Regions from separate parts of the Homo sapiens genome. Here region 1 is linked to region 2. The links are contacts of gene promoters, found by promoter capture Hi-C in blood cells and fetal thymus (Javierre and others, 2016). All regions are on one chromosome and are shown on one strand. The core of a region is centred on a gene start or on the middle of the fragment in contact, and the rest is flanking DNA. Distances in the headings are between cores, read along the strand shown.

Evidence for each region. Contacts are between HindIII fragments. The CHiCAGO score rates a contact against its expected background, and 5 or more counts as called.
Region 1: a contact is called between a fragment that was not itself captured here and the fragment with the promoter of PUS3 in region 2, in 1 of 17 cell types (non-activated CD4 T cells). The highest score is 5.6, in non-activated CD4 T cells.

Annotation. Positions count from the first base shown.
Region 1 is chr11:126,082,890-126,088,513 of GRCh38, forward strand. No RefSeq gene overlaps it. Among named protein-coding and RNA genes, the nearest start is that of CDON, 23 kb to the left of the region's middle. The HindIII fragment of the contact is 817 bases long and covers 853-1,669 here.
Region 2 is chr11:125,901,853-125,907,462 of GRCh38, forward strand. PUS3 (pseudouridine synthase 3) reads right to left here and starts at 1,354. Exons shown (of 4, transcript NM_031307.4): 1 at 1,318-1,354. DDX25 (DEAD-box helicase 25) reads left to right here and starts at 2,656. Exons shown (of 12, transcript NM_013264.5): 1 at 2,656-2,728; 2 at 3,360-3,426; 3 at 3,701-3,745; 4 at 4,222-4,357. The coding sequence starts at 2,666. The HindIII fragment of the contact is 3,679 bases long and covers 1-2,066 here.

The DNA of each region.
Region 1 (5,624 bases), core at 11-2,510, 180 kb after region 2:
TTTGAGGCCCACAACAGGGCACACAGGGGAGGGCCAGGCCCTGGAGGGTGGTGTTTGCAGGCGCCGGCCAAGGGCTCTCTCTTTGCCTCTGTCCGCTTGAGCTACACCCCCCTTTCAGCTCTTTTGCCATTGGCATTTAGCTGTATTACACCATCCTCCTCCTCCCGTAAGAATGTTTGGAGCCTTTCTCCATCAGTCCCCGCTACACCCATGCGCACCTGGCTCAGTCTCAGTGCCCCTCAGACTCTTCACTCCCAGTTTTGGAGTGCAGTTTTCTCTTCTAACTGGTAATGTAGGAGGATGGCACATAAAACAAAACAAGCAAACAAGAAAACACACCTGTCTTCATCCAGAGATGGTATCTCTCTCCCAGGGCAAGATCACCCTGCTCTTTAGCTTCTCTCCCCTGAGATCTAGAAAGAATCCAGGAACAACTCCACCCACAGACCCCTGAGCTGCATTTCCAGAAATAGGGGCCACTGTGGATTCTCACCACCACAACTCACCCTCCCCCAATCATTAATAAAACCTAGGTTATTTTGTGGGCCACCGAACTACTGCTTTCAGCACATGGAGTCCGACGCCGACCTAATTATACTTTGATATTTCTCTTGATCTCTGTTAGAGTAGAGCAACTGGCTCCCCTCCAGGAAGAATCTTCTTCCTCTGCCTGGATGTCAGTGTACCTAAAATCACCTGACTTTTGTTCTCCTTCCTACCTCTGTCTCTCTCTCTTTCTCTCTGTCTCTCTATCTATCTCTTACACGCACACACACACACACACACACACTCTCCACGGAGAAGGTAAAAATGTCTCTAGGTTTGTATTCAAGAGATCTGGTTTCCAGTCTAAGCTTAGCATCCAGGGAAGAAGCATCTGTCTCAACTCTTTTCTGGAGTTTTCAGGAAGAGAGAGAATAGCTCCAGGCTGCCACCCCAGAGAGACCCAAAGCAGCCCTGACTCAATCCAGGACCTTCCTCCACAGCCCCAGCAGGTGCACATTCAGTCTCTCAGGCAGCTCCAGCTCCAGCTCCCTCACCTCCAACCTCCCCCGCAACCCCAGTGAGCCAGCCTGGGGCTCCCCTATCTTTAGAGTCTCCGCTTTCCCTGTGTGAGAGGAGAATTCCACCAGAAGAGGAGGGAGCTGGGAGCTATGTCAAGGGCTCAAGCTGGAGAGCCGTGGAGGGGAGTGGAAGCGGGGAGCTGGTGGTGGTGTCTGGGGAGAAAGGAACTCACTCCCCTCAGCATCATCCTGCAGAGAGAGTAACAGCAAATCAGAGGTAAATCCACTTCCTGGCAGGAAGCTGAGCCTGAAACCAGATGAAGCCACAGTGGTTCAAAGGCAGAGTGACACTCAAACAAGAGAGCAGCCCTTAATCCCCCATAGAAAGATGAGAATGGCGCGCTCAGGCCCAGGAGGGAGACCGTGCGGCTTTGTGTAAGCAGGATTGAAAACACAGCCCTATTGAAAGGCTGGGACTTCGAGACACAGACCCTGAGGGCCAGTTGCCAAGTTGAAGGCAGCCCAAGGCTGCCAGCTTTCACCTCTTTAGTTCTGGCCTTGGCAGTAATGAGGTGAAGGGCCGGGACTTTTAACTGGCTAGGTCAAAAAGGTTTCCTTATTAGACAAACAGTGCGGGCTGGGGGTGGGGGGTGCATTGGTGTCTAAGCTTAGAACCGATAGCTTCCAGAAAAAGAGGCAGAGCCAGAGGTCTGTCTCCTCACACACCTGCCTCTCCTGCCGAGCCAGCCCCTGGATCTTCACCTCTGTCCCAGCCTGCTCCTGCCCATCCGCACCAGGCTTGAGGAGGGGACTTGAGGAGGTGTCAAGAGGGCCAGAAGAGGGCCCAGCGAGCTATGGAGTGACACAGAGTGGGCTGGGGAGGAAACTGCCCTGAGGCTGCTTCTTTTTTTTTTGAGACAGAGTCTCATTCTGTTGCCCGGCTGGAGTGCAGTGGCATGATCTTGGCTCACAGCAACCTCTGCCTCCTGGGTTCAAGTGATTCTCCTGCCTTAGCCTCCTGAGTAGCTGGGACTACAGGCACACGCCACCACGCCCAGCTAATTTTTGTGTTTTTAGTAGAGACAGGGTTTCCCCATGTTAGCCAGGATGGTCTCGAACTCCTGACCTTGTGATCCGCCCACCTCGGCCTTCCAAAGTGCTGGGATTACAGGCGTGAGTCACCGTGCCCAGCCGAGGCTGCTTCTTGACCTATAGGTCAGCGCCTGTGATAAGGCAAACTTGGGGAGAACAGCCCTGTCCGGTGGGTAGACAGCCTGCAGCAGTGAGCGCCCCCTTTCCTGGGTGGCGGCAGAACAGCTCCGTGCGCAGCTGCTGTCCCCAGCACTGCCCTGGCATCAAAGGCCCACACCCTGCTTGTGTCTCTAAAGCTGTTTGTCAACCAGTGCTCTACAAAGACCTCAAGTTTAGAAGCTGGTGCCTGGGGGACCAAAAGACAGGGTGTAGGGGGTGTAGCGGAAGAGGATTCCCAAGCTGAGTGAAAGGATTTCCTATCCCCTCACTCACACATCTCAACCAGAACAGCTTCTTTTTATTGACTTGCCATATCTTCCATGTAAGATTTCATCCAAGGAGACAATTACAGAAACCAGAGAGTTGAAAAAGCACTGTCCTACAAGGTGAGAAGGTGCTCTGGAGGGGAGACTCATACTTCTCTAGTTTCATAACAATATCTTTGCACAGTTAGCATCCAAATATAATTCATTAAAGAAGTGCTTCTTAAACACCTTATTCACATGGCCACTAGTTCCACAGAGTATTGGCGGCTTGCAAAGAGATGCATGCACTAAAGCAGGAGTAAGTCCAAATAAGAATGAATAACTAGGATCACAGAAAATATACACGAAATGAAATCAAGACTAGGGAAGAGAAACACACATACACGGGGGATAAAGTCCTGCATATTTGCTGTTATTGGACTCCAGATTGGCTTCTGAGCTTCCCTGAAGGCAAATCTGGAGAGGAAAAGAGAGAGGAAAAAAAGGAGACAGACAGACAGATGTCTGGAATCTAATTCTCTTTACCAGAATGAAGGAAATATACCAGCGTGTCAGGCTAAGCAAAATTTTTTCCAGCTGTAAGTTTTAGAAGAAATTTCTCACAATGAAATTCGTATAGGCAGTGCTGAGTAACAGGATTGGCAATGTCTTTAGTTGACACCCTACAGTAATAAGACTCCGTTGATGAGGGTACAAGATAAAATGGCCCAAAAGAATGGTCTTGTATCACTTTAGTTTGATCTAAGCATAACCCATCCATTTTAGTTTGGGTTCCCCTAGAAGCAGACCTGGAGAAAGGGATTCAAATACAAGTCATTTGTTTGATCCCAGTAAACACTAGTAGGAGAGTGGGCAAGTGAGACAGGAAAGGAAAAAAGGCCCCCAAAAAGGTGTGTTACCAAGCTAGTTCCTACTAAGGGAATTAAAGCTCATCCCCACTGAGGAATTCTGGGAGTGTTGAACAGCCTCTGAATCATCCTACCTGAGGCGGGGAGGGAGCTGGGGCATATATACCAACTCCCATCAATCAATGGTTGAGGGCTGCTCTAGGAGCATGAATTCCCCGGTGTGTCTGGTTTACCACATATGTGGGCAAAGCAGGCTGCAGCAGGCAAAGAAAGGCCTCAGGCAAGTGATATAGAAGCTGGCAGTCGGAATGTCAGCCAGCATGCCCCGAAATGGTACAGGCCAAGGAGGTGCCGACAGGATGCTGACAGCATCACATCAGCTTGGGGACCCATGGTGACACCCTAGCAGGAGCAGCCCCAGGACACAGAGGTTGCAGCGAGCCAAGATCGCGCCACCACACTCCAGCCTGGGCGACAGAGTGAGCCTCCATCTAAAAAAAAAAAAAGAAAAAGAATGACATTCTGGTTTAGAGTTTTTATAATACTTTTATAATTTAAAAATTTGGAAAATGTTTATAACGACATTTCTGCCAGGAAATACTTCCTGTGGACTTTGATTTTCATGGCAGTATCAAAATGCGTGTTTTATATGTACATCAGCAACTAGGGATCTATACTCTTCATATGTGGTCCACTTCCTGGCCCCTTTGTCAAGGCCAACGAGAGGTGAGGAAAAAACCTCAATCTGGCCGGGTGCAGTGGCTCATGCCTGTAATCCCAGCACTTTGGGAGGCCGAGGCGGGCAGATCACTTGAGGTTAGGAGTTCGAGATCAGCCTAGCCAACATGAAGAAACCCCGTCTCTACTAAAAATAGAAAAATTAGCCGGGCGTGGTGGTGCATGCCTGTAATCCCAGCTACTCGAGAGGCTGAGGCAGGAGAATCACTTGAACCTGGGAGGCAGAGGTTGCGGTGAGCCGAGATTGCACCAATGCACTCCAGCCTGGGCAACAAGAGCAAAACTCTGTCTCAAAAAAAAGAAAAACAAACAAAAAACAAAACAAAAAAACCCCCTCAATCTTCTATTGGTTTAGACAGATTCGTTCACAACCACAGATAGTAAATCAATGATCAATAATGGAGTGGCTGAGCTTGAAAACTCCAATTGCTCCCCATGTAAAAATATCGACCTGGGGAAAAAAATGGGTTAAAAGAGAGCGTGCGCAATTTTATTAAATACAAATTACTTCACTTTATTCCTGTAACAGAAAGAATATTCCATATCATTAAATGCTGCCCCTAAAAGGTGAGTAAGAAGAAAGCAAAAAGAAGTTGGAGGGTCTTCCTCCAGTTAGAGTAGAGTTTCTGAGCGTTGGACTGTTATCGAGGCGCTGAACCTTGCACTGGCTGTTGTCCGGTTTCTCTCCAAAACCTGGTTGAGACCACCGGTATTTGAAAAAGTTGGGGTAAGGGGCATTCTGGTCACTGATACTATGAACCTAACCCAAGTATGAAGCCTAAGGTATTCTGCTTTAATGGGAAGGGTATGAGCCTTATAACCTCCACCTTCTGGCTGTGTGGCCTTAGCAAAATCATTTAACCTTTCTGTTCTGTCATTTGTTAAAAGAAGATAGTAACAACTTCCTTACAGGCTGTTAGGAGAGTTAGAGATAATGCATGCAAAATGCTGGCCCTGTTTCTGATATGTAGTAAAGGCACAGTAAAAGAAACTATGATTATCTAGTAAGACCCATCTCTACAAAAAATAAAAATAAAAAAATAGCTGGTCATGGTGGTGCATGCCTGTAGTCAGCCACAGCTACTCGAGAGGCTGAGGTGGGAGGATCGCTTGAGCCCAGGAGTTCAAGGCTGCAGAGAGCTATGGTCACACCACTGCACTCCAGCCTAGGAGACAAAGTGAGATCCTGTCAAAAAAAAAAGGAAGATGAAGAAACTGATTTTCATCACCAAATGAGGAGTTCTTTAAATGGAGATGGGATACATCTTCTGTTTGACATGACATAGGAGTATAATCAGGGGACCTTGGGTTCAGATATCTAATCATGCTCAAAAAGACTTAAAGTTATAAATCAATCTAGCAATTCAAGAGTACATTTACAATTAACTTTCCTCAAAGAGCCATCAGAGCATTGCTCCAAGCTAGATATTCTAAGAGAACATTTTTGAGATCTTTCTATGGCTGTGTATGGTCGTTGGCTGGCAACATTCCCCTCTGAACATCAAGGCCCAAGTAAT
Region 2 (5,610 bases), core at 104-2,603:
CATAAACTATACAGGATGATCTCAGTACACACAGGGAAAGATCAAAACCTAACGAGTAGTGGGATTAAAGGTAATTTGTATTTATACCTCGACTTTTTATGAGGTCAAAAATTACATGGTGATTTTAACATGCAAAACACTCCAGTGATTATTTGGATCTCAAAGTCCAACATTACCAAAGTCTCCAAAGTTCAACTCCCGTGCTAACTAAAGAACTAGGCCAGGGAGTGAGTCTAGTTGGTCATAAGGCAGATTTGTGGCAAAAACAGGACTTGGTACACTACAGTGCTTTTTCCAGCACACCTTACCCTAATTCAGGGTGAAGTGCAGGAGTTCCCAAGCAGACGTTTAAAGTAACACCCTGGCCAGGGCTGCGAAGTAACCACAGAGAGGGAATTCGTGTGTCCCCTAAGCACCAATTACAAACTAAAACGGCCATCACCAGATGTTCCATACATTGGGCCAGGCGCCGTGGCTCACGCCTGTCATCCCAACATTTTGAGAGGCCAAGACGGGGTGGTGGCGGGGGGGAGGGGGGGTCGCTCGAAGTCAGGAGTTCGAGACCAACCTGGGCAACACAGCGAGACCGTGTGTTAATTAAAAAATTAAAAACTAGGCTGCCAAGATGGCGCACGCCTGCAGTCCCAGCTAGTTGGAGGCTGAGGTGGAAGGATCGCTTGAGCCCAGGAGGTAGAGGCTGCAGTGAGCAGTGATCACGCCACTTCACTCAGCCTGGGCGACAGTCTTAAAAAAAAAAAAAAAAAAGTCCTAATCTCAGGAACCAGTGGGTTAACACATAAATAGCATTCCTCTTGATAAACTTTATATTAATCCAAAGGGAAGAAGAGGGAGTACTGTCCAAAGGATTAGCAGACACGCACTATGATCACTAGAAAGCAATCGTGGTCTGTATGTAAGGCAATCCCCAAAATAATTTGAAAATTGCTGCCACAGCCTCCCACATACTCCTGGGTTCTCAACTTCTACTGTTTTATGAGCACCCAATTCTAAGTGGGGCAGCAGAGCACTTTTGTACTCCACAGTACAAGTACCACTGAAGCTCCCGTCACAACGGAATTAAAGACGACCCTACTGCGGCGAGTTTCCACCGAGAGCTCCAGAAAGTACCAGGCACAAAAGAAAAATACATGGTCTTAAGCGAGGTCTCATTTCCATACGGCAATGCTTTCCTGAAAAGACCAAAGTATGTGAAAGAGGGCAAAAAGAAGACAACAGACAACCGTTCAGCAGTGTGTCCATTTGTCCCTTCCCCTGTGGAACCCAGAAAGTAACCCACTCCAAAAATCCCACACTTACTTTCCGGCAGCCGGCCGCGCCGCGTTTCCGAGAAAGGAAGCTGTCACTGTGCGTCTTCTGCGCAGGCGCCCGAGCCCTCATGGGAGGTGTAGTCCAAGTTTGTGGGAAATGTAGTTCTGAGAACCGAGCTTGGTGCTAGAATCTACCTGAGGTTTTCTAGTCCAGCTACCGTTTCTCCGCCCACAGGGCAGAATCTGGGCCTGTGGCGGGACAGCAATAAAAGGAGGAATTGTAGTGCTACGCTAAAATAATAGAAAAAAGGTAATTTTTCAAATTCTGCTATCCTTATACGAAAACTAAAAGATTGAAGATCTTGGCTCGATTTTATACCTAGTTAAATGAGAAGAAAGTTACCATTGAGAGACAAAAACATTTACTATTAGAATTCAAATTAAAAGCTGAAATGAATATGATAATCTCAAAACAAACGACTAGGTGCCCTGAGAGTGACCGAACAGAGCGGGGAGCGTTGCTTCAGCACCACGGAGAGATCATGACTGCAGTTTCGTGTGGGTTTTTGTATTTTTGCCCCCAATTCCAGAAATGCTGATCAAAATCTCAAAATTACAATTAGAAAACTGGGGGGCGGGGGGGAGGTGGAATTTGGTTCTTTCGTCCAAATTGAGCGGTCATTAAATCATTAGTACCAGGGATCCAGGGATCTATACCGGATTATGCAAACGCATGTAGGACGTAGAGGTTATACCGAAAGGTAATGTTTTTAACAAGAGACCACATTTCAGAATAAAAGCTTTAAAAAGCCTATGTGGAACATCACAGGTATCTAGGGCAGGAACAGCAGTTAGAGCTTGAACAGTTCTGCTTCCTTTCCGCAACTGTGGCATTCGAGGTCATTCGTCATATCAAATTCATCAGATTTTGTCTCCACTTTGCTAACCAATTCGCTAACCTTTCTGACATCTTGTGATGTGGAGGCGGAAATTTCCAGGGAAACCGACACGGGGCGTAAAGCGCGGCGGGGAGTCCGGGGGGCTCCCGCCTGGAGGGCTGTGTGAGCGGCGGGCCGCGGGGCGGCGCGGGGGGCGCTCTCCACTCTGCGGAAGCTGCCCCCTCTGCCCTCCGGTCCGCGCCCTTTCGCCCCGCTCTCTGCCCTCCGCCCCGCTCTCTGCCCTCCGCCCCGCTCTCTGCCCCCCGCCCCGCTCTCTGCCCTCCGCCCCTTCCGCGCGCCACCCAGCCTTCCAGCGCCTGCGCGCCGCACCGCGGTGGTCGCGGGCGCGGACGCGGACGCCTGCCCCCTAAGGAAGCCCATTGGCCAGCGGATGGGGCCAGCACCGCCTCGCGCCGGTGGTGGAAGCACGTGCTGGGGGCGGGAGCAGCAATCGCAGCCATGGCGTCGTTACTGTGGGGAGGCGACGCAGGGGCGGCGGAGAGCGAGCGGCTGAACAGCCACGTAACCGCCACCGAGCCGGGGGGCCACAGCCGCGGGGGTGGAGCTCCCACTCGCAGAGGGAGATCGGCTGGGAGGGGAGGGAGAGCCCGCGAGCGTTCGAAGTGGGGCGTCAGATGCTGGAGGGGAGATGCGGGAAGGGTTTGGAAGAGGGCCACAGAGGGAGACCCCGTCCCCACCCCCACGAGAGGCAAGACCTTTGGTTAGAAAGGGCAAAAATGACGACCCCTGGAAATCCAGGGTGGGAACGCAGCTGGTAGTCCCAGCTAGACCCCGAGTTTTCTACTCTGCCCATTTGCCCATTAAGCCTCACCTCGCTTCCATCCATTTGCCAGCGCACTTTCCTAGCCACCCTCCCCTTGTTGGTGCCGTGAGCCCCAAGTACTGCCCAACTCTAAACTAGAGGCCTAGGAAAGAGAAACTGCATGTACAGGGAATACAGAAAATCTCCAATTTTAGGGTAACTCATACAGGAAACCCAACCTTGAAAGGAATCTGCTGCTACCTAATATTGCAAAGGAAGCAATACCCGGGTGTCCTTCCCTGAATCCCTCCCAGCCCCTGTGGTAGGGAAGCACTGGGCTGCTTGAGGGCTTGCATCCTAATATTGGTTGAAATTTGTGTCTCTCAATAGTTTTCAAACCTCAGCCAACCCCGGAAGAACCTTTGGGGTATTAAGAGTACTGCAGTCCGAAACATAGGTGAGTGCTGTTAGGGCAAAGCAGAGCGACCTCAATGATTAAAAAGTATTGTTTTGCTTTCATCACGTCCCTGCCAAGTGAAACACCGCGGATTCATTAGTGTGACATTCAGCACTCTCCATTACCTTCCCAATCGTTTCGTCCATTCCTCCATGAAATGACTCTTCTTGCCAGTAGACACTGAAGAGTCAGGAAGAAAAAATTGAATAGCATGCTTTACATTTGTGCTCAGCATTTGTCTTTACTTGTATTGTTTCTCTTCCATCCTTTCCAGATGGTTCTATTAATAACATCAATGAAGATGATGAAGAAGATGTAGGTAGGAGATGAATTCATTTGCATGTATCTACTAGCATTCTGTTTCCGTTTATAACTTTAATAGTGTGAGTGAATAATATAATCTCAATTGGAAAAGGCCTGTCTTTGCTTCTGTTTTCTTATAGTGACTATCAGGAGACACACTAAATTAGGAGTAAGGTGTATTTATTTAAAGGAAGTTGAAATGGAATATGCAGGGATTGGGTTCAGAACTTCCATCTGTCAAGGATTTGGTCTCATGGAGATGGACTTAGGCTACTTTGAAGTTAGAGGATGGTGAAGTAACAGAGCGTAAGAAACTGAATCCTCATAAAGAACGAATCCTCAGTGCTATATCATTCTTTCTGGAACCCTCTTTTAGAGGAAAAATGAGCGTAGGTGCAATTGCTTGGTATACAACCACTGAAAGAGAAAGAGCAACTTATTTGATGTCATTCAGGAAGCTTGATGTCCTCTTTTTTATTTTTGCTTTTCTAGTGGATTTGGCAGCTAATTCACTCTTAAACAAGTTAATCCATCAATCCTTAGTAGAATCCAGTCACCGTGTGGAAGTTTTACAGAAGGATCCCAGCTCTCCACTTTACTCAGTAAAGACATTTGAAGAGCTGCGGCTGTGAGTATTTTTACTCTTTTAATATGGGAAAAATGCTGAAAACCACAGAACAAACGCATCTGCTTATAGTAAAAACCATCAGGATCTCCTCTTTGTTTTCTGATATTCAATATTTTTTTTTGTTATTTGAGACAGAGTCTCACTCTGTCCCCCAGGCTGGAGTGCAGTGATACGATCTCGGCTCACTGCTCTACCTTACAGGTTCAAGCGATTCTCCTGCCTCAGCCTCCCGAGTAGCTGGGACTACAGGCATGCACCACCACGCCCAGTTAATTTTTAATATTCAGTATTAAAGTGAGATTTGTACATTTTCCATGCAATCAAAATATAGCTCAGGCCAGGCACAGTGGCTCATTCCTATAATCCCAACACTTGGGAGCTGAGGAGGGCAGATCGCCCGAGGGTCAGGAGCTTGAGACCAGCCTGGCCGACATGGGAAAACCCCCTCTCCACTAAAAATACAAAAAGTAGCCGGGCATGGTGGCGCGCACCTGTAATCCCAGCTATTCGGGAGGCTGAGGTAGGAGAATCGCCTGAACCCAGGAGGCAGAGGTTGCAGTGAGCCGAGACACCATTGCACTCCAAGCCTGGGTGACAGAGTGAGACTCCGTCTCAAAAAAAAAAAAAAAAAGGATATTCTAAAGAAGAACATTAGGATACTCAAGTTGCCTGGCAAATTGAGAACATTTTTGATAGTAAGATATTTTCATCCTGCAGTGCTCAGGGGGATAGATAGCTAAGCTAGGCACAGCCAGATTGCCCCTCTCCATATCAGAACCCAGATTCTGATGACCCAGACATCCTCCTTCACCCACTATAGATAAGTCACAAACTTTTACTTTCCTGATTATATTTTGTTTCAAATGATATTAAACTGAATAACTTTCCCAAATGGGTTTGCATTCCCTAGGGATTTATCATTTGACGCTAAAAAATGTATTTTTACAGAACGAGAAAAGCACTGAAACCTACTTATGTAAAGGGTAAAAATCCAAAATCCTAGTTCCCAGACATTTTCTAAATGGTAGAAGAAGCCTACCCATGATTTAAGATGGGCTACCAGTCCTCTACCAATTAAGCACACACAAATGTGCATGTCATTAAAAGTTGAAGTGTTGGCCGGGCGCGGTGGCTCACGCCTGTAATCCCAGCACTTTGGGAGGCCAAGGGGGGCGGATCACGAGGTCAGGAGATCGAGACCATCCTGGCTAACACAGTGAAACCCCGTCTCTACTAAAAATACAAAAAATTAG